Linked DNA regions of Homo sapiens: region 1 is linked to region 2. The links are contacts of gene promoters, found by promoter capture Hi-C in human tissues and cell types (Jung and others, 2019). All regions are on one chromosome and are shown on one strand. The core of a region is centred on a gene start or on the middle of the fragment in contact, and the rest is flanking DNA. Distances in the headings are between cores, read along the strand shown.

Region 1 (4,549 bases), core at 435-2,934, 510 kb before region 2:
ATGACTTACATGATGATAGGGCTGTGATAGGGATATGGGCGAGCCCAGGATGCAGATACTTCCTGGAGGAGGGGATGCCCAAAGTGAGAATGTGGCACCTAAGCAGAATTTCAAACAGTTCAGCATGATTGAGCTGGGAGTGTTGGGTGGGTGAGTGGCAAAGGGTGAGGGGGAACAAGACGGAAGGGGCTACAAGGAGCTTGATAGTAAATGATTCATAAGCCTTGCTGAGGAATTTGGACTTCAGCCCAGGCTGATTATTCGTTATTTACCGTCTCTCACCAAATCCCTGCCCACATCCATTTTCTATCCTACTCTGACCTGCTCTGTGCCCTAGCAGGATGACCCCTGCAGACTGCACCACCCAGCTCCCTTGCCAGATGGTTTCCTGTACGATTTGGGCAAGAGAGGCTCCAGCAGGTCCGCTGTGGGCAGGAGGAGTGAAAGAAAGGTTATGGTATTGCTTCTGCTTTCCTTTCATATCAATAGCAGTAGTTGCACCCTCTGCAGTTCAGTCTCCACCAGTTGGCCCTTTCTCTAGCTCTCACTATAATCCAGTAACTCTACTTTTTCTTCTTGTCCCCTTCTAGGGTGGTAACAGCTTCCTACTGCTGCTAACAAACTCATCCATAGTTTGCTTCCTTAACCCTATCCATATATCTGCAAGTGGTACTTTCATTAAAGTCTCTTCTCTTCCTCTGAACCATCCGAAATGAATTCCGTTTTCTGACAAGACCCTAACTGATACAATCCTGAAAGTTATAAGGAGACATTCAAGTGTAGGGAGTCACAAAAAAACAAAAAATATGGCAATCAATGTGTACCTCCAACACTACTTAAGGGACAAGGCCCTCAAATTTTAGCCAATCTATTCCCAATGGTAGCGCCCTGTGTATTGCAGAGATGCATGCATCAGCAATCACAGACCAGGAACCTCTGAATCATGCAACTAGCCCCCAATTCTGATGCAAGATTGCAAAGGCAATGTTATAAACATAAATAAGCTTCTTGCATAGATCTAACAATACAAAAGGAAATAGGACATAGGTGCTTTGGTCTGCATGATACTTATTTCATTATAGACACCACTATGAGCCCAGGCGCAGTGACTCACGTCTGTAATCCCAGCACTTTTGGAGGCCAAGGCGGGTGGATCACCTGAGGTCAGGAGTTAGAGACCAGCCTGGCCAACATGGTGAAACCTGTCTCTACTAAAATACAAAAATTAGCTGGGCTTGGTGGTGGGTGCCTCCAATCCCAGCTACTTGGGAGGCTGAGGCAGAAGAATCACTTGAACCAGGGAGGCGGAGGTTGTAGTGAGCTGAGATTGCACTGCTACACTCCAGCCTGGGCCACAAGAGCAAAACTCCCATCTCAAAAACAAAACCAAACAAAAAAAAAACCCCACTATTATGAGTTTGGTTCCTATAACTCTATCTCCAAAGTCCAGTCCATTCTAAGACTCTGCAAAGAAACTGGATCTTCAAATAAACTGGATACAGGCTATTTTCCATCCCAGGACCCCTATGTGTATCTGCTGCTCCCTTTCTTACAGTATACCTTCTGCCCCATTCTGCTTTGTCTGAACTCTAATTTGTCTTTTACAGCTTGGCTTCAGGGTTATTTTCTCCATTAGCCCTTCTCTAACCCCTGTATTTATCTGTCTTAATTTCAAGGAGCAACATGAAGTCAGGAACTTTGTTCACCTCTGCACCCCCAGCACCTAATTCAATGCCTGGCCCACAATTTGTCTTCCTTATTGGGTTGAAAGTAAATTGAAATCACCATATTTGCCTGATTCATTTTTGTATCTTTCCAGAATGCCTAGAATAGTGCCTTGCACACAACAGGAGATCAATAAATATTTGTTAAATATATAAATGACAAAAATGTAACAAGTGTGTTCTTTCTTCCTATACTTCAAGGGAACATACAGTAAAGAATCATGATACCAGAGTTAAACAAATCCACGGGAACCTCCCAGGAAACCAAAACGTGCAAATGTGCCAGGAGGTTTTACAGATTAAGTCCATATGGGATTTTAAAAAAAAACAGAAGTGCTGTAGGACTTTATTGTGAATTGGATCTGCCAATATCAGTGCTGAAGAAGCCAACCCTGAAGCCAAATACCAGCATTTGTTTCCCAAACACTGATTAAAACAAATATTTTTCAGTTGCCATAGCTTTTGGATCTATTTTTGACATGCACGCTGAATGCAGCAAATAACATGGAAACTCTGGCTCCCTTCATTGCTGCTTAACATTGAGGACTCTAACCTCACTAGTGAGGTCAGAAAACACCAGCTACACAACCACACAAGATACCTTTCCTTGCTCCTAGGCTGCCAACTGCAGTACTATCTTTGGGATGGTTCGTCATGTCTACTAGCTGCACGTGCTTTAAAACTGAATACAGCCTCAATACAGCCTTTAAGTTTGGAAACTAGTTAAAATTAGACTAAGTCTTGTGTCTTTATAGGAAAGCACTGACAATATCTCTTTGATACATAGCATAGCCCTGATATACAATTTTAATTTTTTATTGTGGAAATTTAAGAACATATACAAAATTATAGAGAAGATTAAAAGGATCTGAAGTACCGTTCACCCAGCTTTGACAACTATCAATTGTGAAAGGAGAACTCAGACACAAAACTATTAAGAAAATAATTTTTACTTTCACTATTCTGTAAGGCAGATCATACTTCAGAACAACTGGGCTATCTAAACAAAGAACACAGCAGGCTTTTAGAGAAAAACACAAGAGGTTACCAAGTGTACAGTTAGTCTGTTCCTCACATGACTACACTATCTGCAAAGGTTATCACCTATATGTTGATATTAATATTGCAAAATCAGGAATTAATTTTTTTTTTATTTTTTTTTTGAGACAGAGTCGCTCTGTCGCCCAGGCTGGAGTGCAGTGGTGCAGTCTCGGCTCACTGCAACCTCTGCTTCCTGGGTTCACGCCATTCAATCAGGAATTAAATTGTTTGCATTAGGGTAGCAGATTACAAAAAGGGCATGGTCTTCATTTAGAGAAAAGTGTTAGGGTGTTTCTGCCTGTTTTAGTATTTTTAAGAAAGTCAAGTGTTTGGGGTTTTGCGGGGGCAGGGATGGGTTTTTTGTTTTGTGTGTGACTGCTATATAATGTGCTAAGTGAAGACAGCAGCAAGGCAAGATATCATTCATGCTTCCTTAGCCCCTCCTTCTGGCCAGGGGCTGCCAGAAGTGTAGATAATTTGACTACACGGGTTTGTTCAGAAATGTTCTGATCCATATTATTAACTTGATGGGTTTTTCTCTTTGACCAATTAAATTTATATAGTTGCTACAAAAGGTGTGGATTAACACTAGGAGATTTCTTTGCTGTATGGTTTTAAAAATTAAAGCCTTAAAATACGAAGGATTGGAGAATTAAATTCTGTCTAGAGGCTTCACAAAGCCCCTAGTCAGATTTTGATCACATCAGTTTCGCAGATGATTTTGAATTGCTGTTCTCAATCAGCTTGTCCTTTCTAGGTCTAGGAGAAAAAAGGCATCCAGTTTGCCCGGACCACGCTTTTCCTCAAGAACTACATAACTAGGACGTCCTTCCTTCTCTGAGGTCCCCAAGTCTGTCAATGTTCCTGCTATGTCAGCAAGTGGCATTCGTTACTAACTGTAAGGCTGAGATTTCACTAGCCAGAGAGCAGGTACAAGGTAAGTTTCCTGGGAGGATGTTGTGGGCATCATTTCCACATATCAAGTACAGTCCCTGTGTCTTATTTTTGGGGGGGGGGGGGGTGAGGGGGGATGGAGTTTTGCTCTTGAGGCTGGAGTGCAATGGTGCAATTTTGGCTCACTGCAACCTCTACCTCCTGGGTTCAAGCCATTCTCCTGCCTCAGCCTCTCAAAGTGCTGAGATTACATGCGTGAGCCACCGCGCCCGGCCCAGTCCCTGTTTCTTAAAGTCAGCTTGTCGTGCCTCATTAAGTCAGACTTGTTTTAAAATGTGACATTTCTTGCATGGTAACGTGACAAATTTTCTTTATCTAACCATATCCCAAGACAGAGGTGTACTGACCCTATGTAAATAATGACATGGTCATAAAAAATAAAGTGAAGCAACAAATGGCACTTCAATAATAACCACTGTTACATGCAGTTTTACAGACAAGCCAATCAATGTGTGTCACTCTTTCTCAGAATCAGTTTTCTTAGATTTTTCTCTTATTTATTCACTTATAATCTATACCCTAAGATATTTTATAGATTTTTTTTCTGAATTCTGAGACATCAGTTGTAATGAGATACCATTTAAAGAATGTTTTGTTCCACTTCGTACAGGGTTTGTTTATTAAATCGAGAATTAGTGATAGATCAAGAAGAAAGAAAAGGGGTGTTGTTCTCATTTGCCAAACAGAATATAGATTAGCCCCAAGTGAATTTTCATCTTAATTTCTTTCCATCCTGCATCATTAATTCTTGTTTTCTGAACTTGGTTTAAGTAACCCTACTATCACAAAGTCATCTGCTTTTAGACTAAATAAAAGGTCCTAGAAATGCT
Region 2 (5,057 bases), core at 2,558-5,057:
GCTGAGAGCTCAGAGGATGACTAAATGGGAAACACTTTTGTTTTCCACATGACTGTGGATATTTACAGTTCTTACTCCTTGTGGTTTTGCCAGTGACTCTTGTTCAGCACGGGGCCTGAGGTCAGAGCTGTCTTGTGCCATCTGTATGTTCTGACAGACGTCTTGTCTTCTATTTTGGCGTTAAGCTTGATCCCCTTTTCTTGTTAAAAGGGAATCTGGTATTTTGTTATGAAGGTTTCTTGAAGAGATTATTTTTTTTTGCAATTAATTACGTTTAGTGTAGAGTGCATATACAGCAAATTAAAGGACCCAGAAAGCTGGATCCAATAGTGACCTGGGTACACCAATCGGAATATTGAATTTGGGGAAGTCAAGGGCTGGGATCAAGAGGTGGATTGGAACTAATGCCATGTAGGATGGTATGACAAGGCAACACTGTATTGCTCTCTGTTTATATAGCAGGTGTCACAACTAACTTGTCTTTAGCCTTGGTGCTTTGATCCTTCTATATTTTGACCCCACAGGTGTGGTCCGGTTTACTTAATCAGGACATGGGCCTAAGAACAAACCTTTTCCCTTCATGATAACATCCATAGACAACTTATTAGAAGGGACTAGAGTTTTTGCAAATTTCCCTGCTGGATGGGGCCTATAGCTATACTTAGTATATGCCTAAACATGGTAATTGGATAGTAAATGGTTTTCTAGTTCCATTGCTGTATATTTGCCTAAATGGACTTGTGTTCAAATTATTTCTTCAATTGTCATAGATAATCCTGTACCAAATGGGGAAGAATTAGGAAATAATCATGTTGTCTAATGGTACTCTGGATTCAGGGCAGCAACTGCCATTTAAATGTTGTCTTGTTCATTTCTAAATCTGTTCATGAAGTTTAGGTTTTCCCTGAAACTAAGTTGAATTATTTCCAAAATGAAACAGGCTTCTCAGGGACATATCCACTTCTTCCCAGTCTGCCTTTGGATTAAAGCACCAAGCAGAGACCACATTAATTCCCTTTGCTATACTGTGATCCTTAGTATGTTAATTCTTAAGAAACCAACATATCACTGAAAGAAGGCTGGCAGAACGCAAGTGCATTTTTTCACTGTGGGAAGAAAGATCAAGTGACGTATTATTTTTTCCTGGTTGTCACTTAATGGGCTGAGTAAAAAGCTTGAAAACTCAGACTTTCGGTCTTGGTTCTGCCACTCATTGGTTATGAGGAGGCCCAGAGCAGGTAAGTTCACCTTCCTGGCCTTACTTTCCTGATGTGTAATACGGAATTACTTCACAGTAGCATGACAGTATAAGACACCAGCAGTAGATACAACTATGATGACATTCCATGAGTTGGTATTTTTAGTTCTAACTGCTAAATTTGTTCTCTTTACGGGACAGATTTCTAATAAAGTGCTTGGTCTTAAAATACATGGTTGGACAGAGGTGCCCTATCCCTTAACTATGAGCAGGTGCTACCTTTTGGGATATTTATTTTAAATTTTAATACTTTGGTACTCAATTGTCAGTGTTCCATGGTGTGTATTTTTATTTTTGGGATTAGTGGGGGTCTAAAGGGAGAAGAATAGTCTCTAATTACTACCTCTTAACCTAAAGCAATTATTTTGTTCCTGGAGCAAGTTAAATCTTTGTTGGAAGGAGCTTTGGCCATATATTTTTTAGCATGCATTGTTTCTGTGCCCTGAAAGTACCTGAAAGGTTTTAAGCACAGACTCAGGAAAATGTGCCAGTAGAACAGGCCATCTCCAGGAAATTGGCTCTATTTGGGTCCTGACCTTCCCTTCCTCCCAAGTTAGCAGGCTTGTTCTTTCGCAAGGAATACACATCTTGCCTTTTTTTTTTTTTTTTTGCCATGTTTTCCTTTTCTTGGTCATGTATAAGCAATAAAGCTGTTTTTTGTTCTTCATCTTTCTTAACCCCAAATTTTCTTCTATGCCTTAGGCTTCGATGGTTCTTCCAACCCCCTTAATATGGCTTAGGGTGGTTTTTCAAAACCTACAATCCCCCATTTGCACTACTGGCCATGGAACATTTATTTCTAGTGTTCCTGCCAATCAGAGATCTCTATATTAAATTCTAAAATGGGATTAAAAGAAGAGTTGGAGAATTCACACTTATTGAGTAACTGATGTCATACAACCTGGAATTTCTGAATTCCAAATAAATAAATTTCACTCTTTGAACATTTCATCTTTTACTTTTTAGCACCAACAGACTTGATAACAGCCTGATGCTGATCTGACAATGGGTTGATAGCCTTCCCCCACTGACCCTTAAATCTGCTTAGTAACAAGTCCTTTGCTTCTGTCATTCTCCTGGGGGATGGCCTACTGCCCTCCTTTCTGTACAATCTGGGCAAACCGACTGGTGATGGCAAGAGTGGTGTCAATGAAGCGGTCTACACAGCTGGAGAGACAATTTTCAGTGCGAGAGTCTAGGCGATTCCCTGGCTTCTCCACACATTTATCCCAACATAACTCCATGAAGTGATGCACCTAAAAGGAAAGAAAAATAGTAACCATTGGGGTCTGCAGATAGGCCTAACTCTTGTTTATTAACTTCTCACTTTTTGACACCTGACAAAACCATTCTTTAAATCAACCACGGAGTCACTTTGGGCTCTTCTCTTTCTTCATTTCCTAATTAGTCACCAATATTGATCCAGATCCTCGTCCCTACAGATTGTACATTCTCAGGTAGGACTAATAACCTTTTATATTCCCCAAAGTAGCTAGCACCATTGTGAACCAACTAGGGAACCAATTAATTTTCCCAAACTATTGCACTCATTTTATTCCAAACCTATCCCCTAGACAAGGTAATTCTTCCATTAACCTTTTGGGGGTTATGGATCCACTCCCCAGAAAAATGCACATACAGGCACAGAAATTATGTGCACTGTCATTAGAATGTTCAGGGCCCAAAGATTTCTAGCCAGGGTTCTTGCTGGTCATCCGAGCACCCTCTTCCTCCCACCCAAAAGGAAAAAACCATTTTACCAAGAGCTTACTATTTGTGAGGCTGGGTACTAAGAAATCAGTTCTCTCTAAGGTCCTCAAGGATAGCTGTCATCACCTCCCATTTAAGAGGCGTGATTATGTAGTCCAAGGTCATGTAGCCAGCAAGAAGTCAGGCCGCGTTAGAACCATGTCCGAAGGGCTCCAAACCCTTGTTCTACATCCATAGTCTACAGCGACTACTTCAGAGTCCACCTTCCTCCGATAATGTTCTAGTCGTTTTCAAATACATTGTCGCATATGATCCTCACAATCCAGTGAGGCAGTGGGGTGACGGCGACACCAAAACCCACAGTGGATGAGTATCTTTTCTACGGGCACGTGGCCTGCAAGGAGCAGAGGGAGGATGAGAACCCAGATCTTTCGAATGCCAGCCCAGTCATGTCGCCGGCTAACTAGTCTCCCGTACCCTTGCGTCGCCCAAATCTTCCCTGTTTTACACCTTTTCTTTTCTCCACGCTACGCTTATATACCTGGCACCTGAGCACTACCGGTCACCAGGGACAGGAGAGCCATAACTTTGTCTTTCGTGAGGGGAATGGGATGCAGCCGGGATCGAGCACCAGTGAGCCGCCAGTGTACAGACCTCCGAGCGTGCCCAGGACCACCAAGGAAGGTGAAACTTCCTTTCCCTTCACCCTCCCCGTCCCCGCACCTGTGCAGTAAACTGCGCCTTCTGCTGCTCGGCGGCCACCAGGCGCTGCAACTCCGCTTCATCGGCTTCGCCCAGCTCCGCCATTGTTCGCCTCAGGCTCGCCACCTTCCGACAGCTGTGTTTGCGCATGCGCGACGGGTGTGCACCGCCTCTCGACTTCCGGTTCACCCAGCATTTCCTCTTCCCTGTTTTCTTTCGTCGTCGTGGGTGGGAATTGTCGCCTAAGTGGTTCCGGGTTGGTGGATGACCTTGAGCCCTCAGGAACGAGATGGCGGTTCTCTGGAGGCTGAGTGCCGTTTGCGGTGCCCTAGGAGGCCGAGGTGAGGGGTCTTCCCACCCTGAGGTGCTTAGCGTAGCCTCCAGCCAGGGAAGGGGATGGAAGTGAGGACTCATCTGCCGGGTGGGAGATCTCTTGAGGAGAAGAAAATACCGAAATCACAGCAATGACCACTGTAGTCTAGGGGTCCAGATGTTTACCCGAAGGTATATTTCACTTGCTGTGAGCTGACGAGTTGAGGGAATAATCAGAAAGAGAGCTCCCTCTGGAAGTCGCAGTCCTGATGAGGCTAATCCACATAGCAGTTCTGTTTTCTCCCCGTTCACTGTCCCTAGAATGCTCCCCACTCGCTCCCACCCTGAGTCGGGAAAGAGGGTTAGGAGCTTGCCCATTTCTTCTGGAGTTGGTGTGTTTGGATGTGGGAGTGGAGGGGGGATCAGTTCGAAAATCATTTAACCTGGGCATTTGTGTTACCTCAGGTACTGTAGTAATGCTAGGATACAAATGTGAAGAAAACGTAGTTCCCGCCCTCAACGAGCTTTCATTCTGATGAGGAAAACACTGTCATAGTAGTCCGGGCAAGATGAGGTCCTGAACTAGGAAAGTAGCACAAAGAAAAGAAGATTGTCTCAAGAACTGTTAAAGAGATACGCCAATAGGATTTGGCGATTGAATTTAGGGGAAAAGTCTCTCATGATTTCCAGATTACTGAGTTAGGTTAAAGAATGCCTGAGGTGTCATTAAATAAAGTAGGGAACATGCAGATGTTCCCTGGTCTTAACTTCACAGTAACCCCAGTGAAATAGATGCTATCTTCATTTTACAAATAAGATGTTATCCCCTATTTATTGTTAAGTAGCTTACCTATGGTCATTTAGAAAGTTTGTCAGTCCTGTTAAAGGAGAGGTTCTTATGATCATCCTAATGACTCTTTCCTCAGCTCTGTTGCTTCGAACTCCAGTGGTCAGACCTGCTCATATCTCAGCATTTCTTCAGGACCGACCTATCCCAGAATGGTGTGGAGTGCAGCACATACACTTGTCACCGAGCCACCATTGTATGTTCTCTCCATCGCTGCTGCTTTCTGGG

The links. Contacts are between HindIII fragments. The study calls those that stand out against the background at their distance.
Region 1: a fragment that was not itself captured here is called in contact with the fragment with the promoter of TIMM8B in region 2 in 1 of the 25 tissues and cell types used here (aorta).

What each region holds. Positions count from the first base shown.
Region 1 is chr11:111,571,857-111,576,405 of GRCh38, forward strand. No RefSeq gene overlaps it. Among named protein-coding and RNA genes, the nearest start is that of SIK2, 28 kb to the right of the region's middle. The HindIII fragment of the contact is 7,597 bases long and covers 1-4,549 here.
Region 2 is chr11:112,082,949-112,088,005 of GRCh38, forward strand. It overlaps TIMM8B (translocase of inner mitochondrial membrane 8 homolog B), which reads right to left and starts at 3,808. Exons shown (of 2, transcript NM_012459.4): 1 at 3,692-3,808; 2 at 1,852-2,514. The coding sequence starts at 3,775. The coding sequence ends at 2,347. It overlaps SDHD (succinate dehydrogenase complex subunit D), which reads left to right and starts at 3,925. Exons shown (of 4, transcript NM_003002.4): 1 at 3,925-4,011; 2 at 4,909-5,025. The coding sequence starts at 3,960. It overlaps NKAPD1 (NKAP domain containing 1), which reads left to right. Exons shown (of 6, transcript NM_018195.4): 6 at 1-2,202. The coding sequence ends at 24. RefSeq lists enhancers at 3,363-4,562, 3,926-4,195, 4,889-5,057. The HindIII fragment of the contact is 14,912 bases long and covers 680-5,057 here.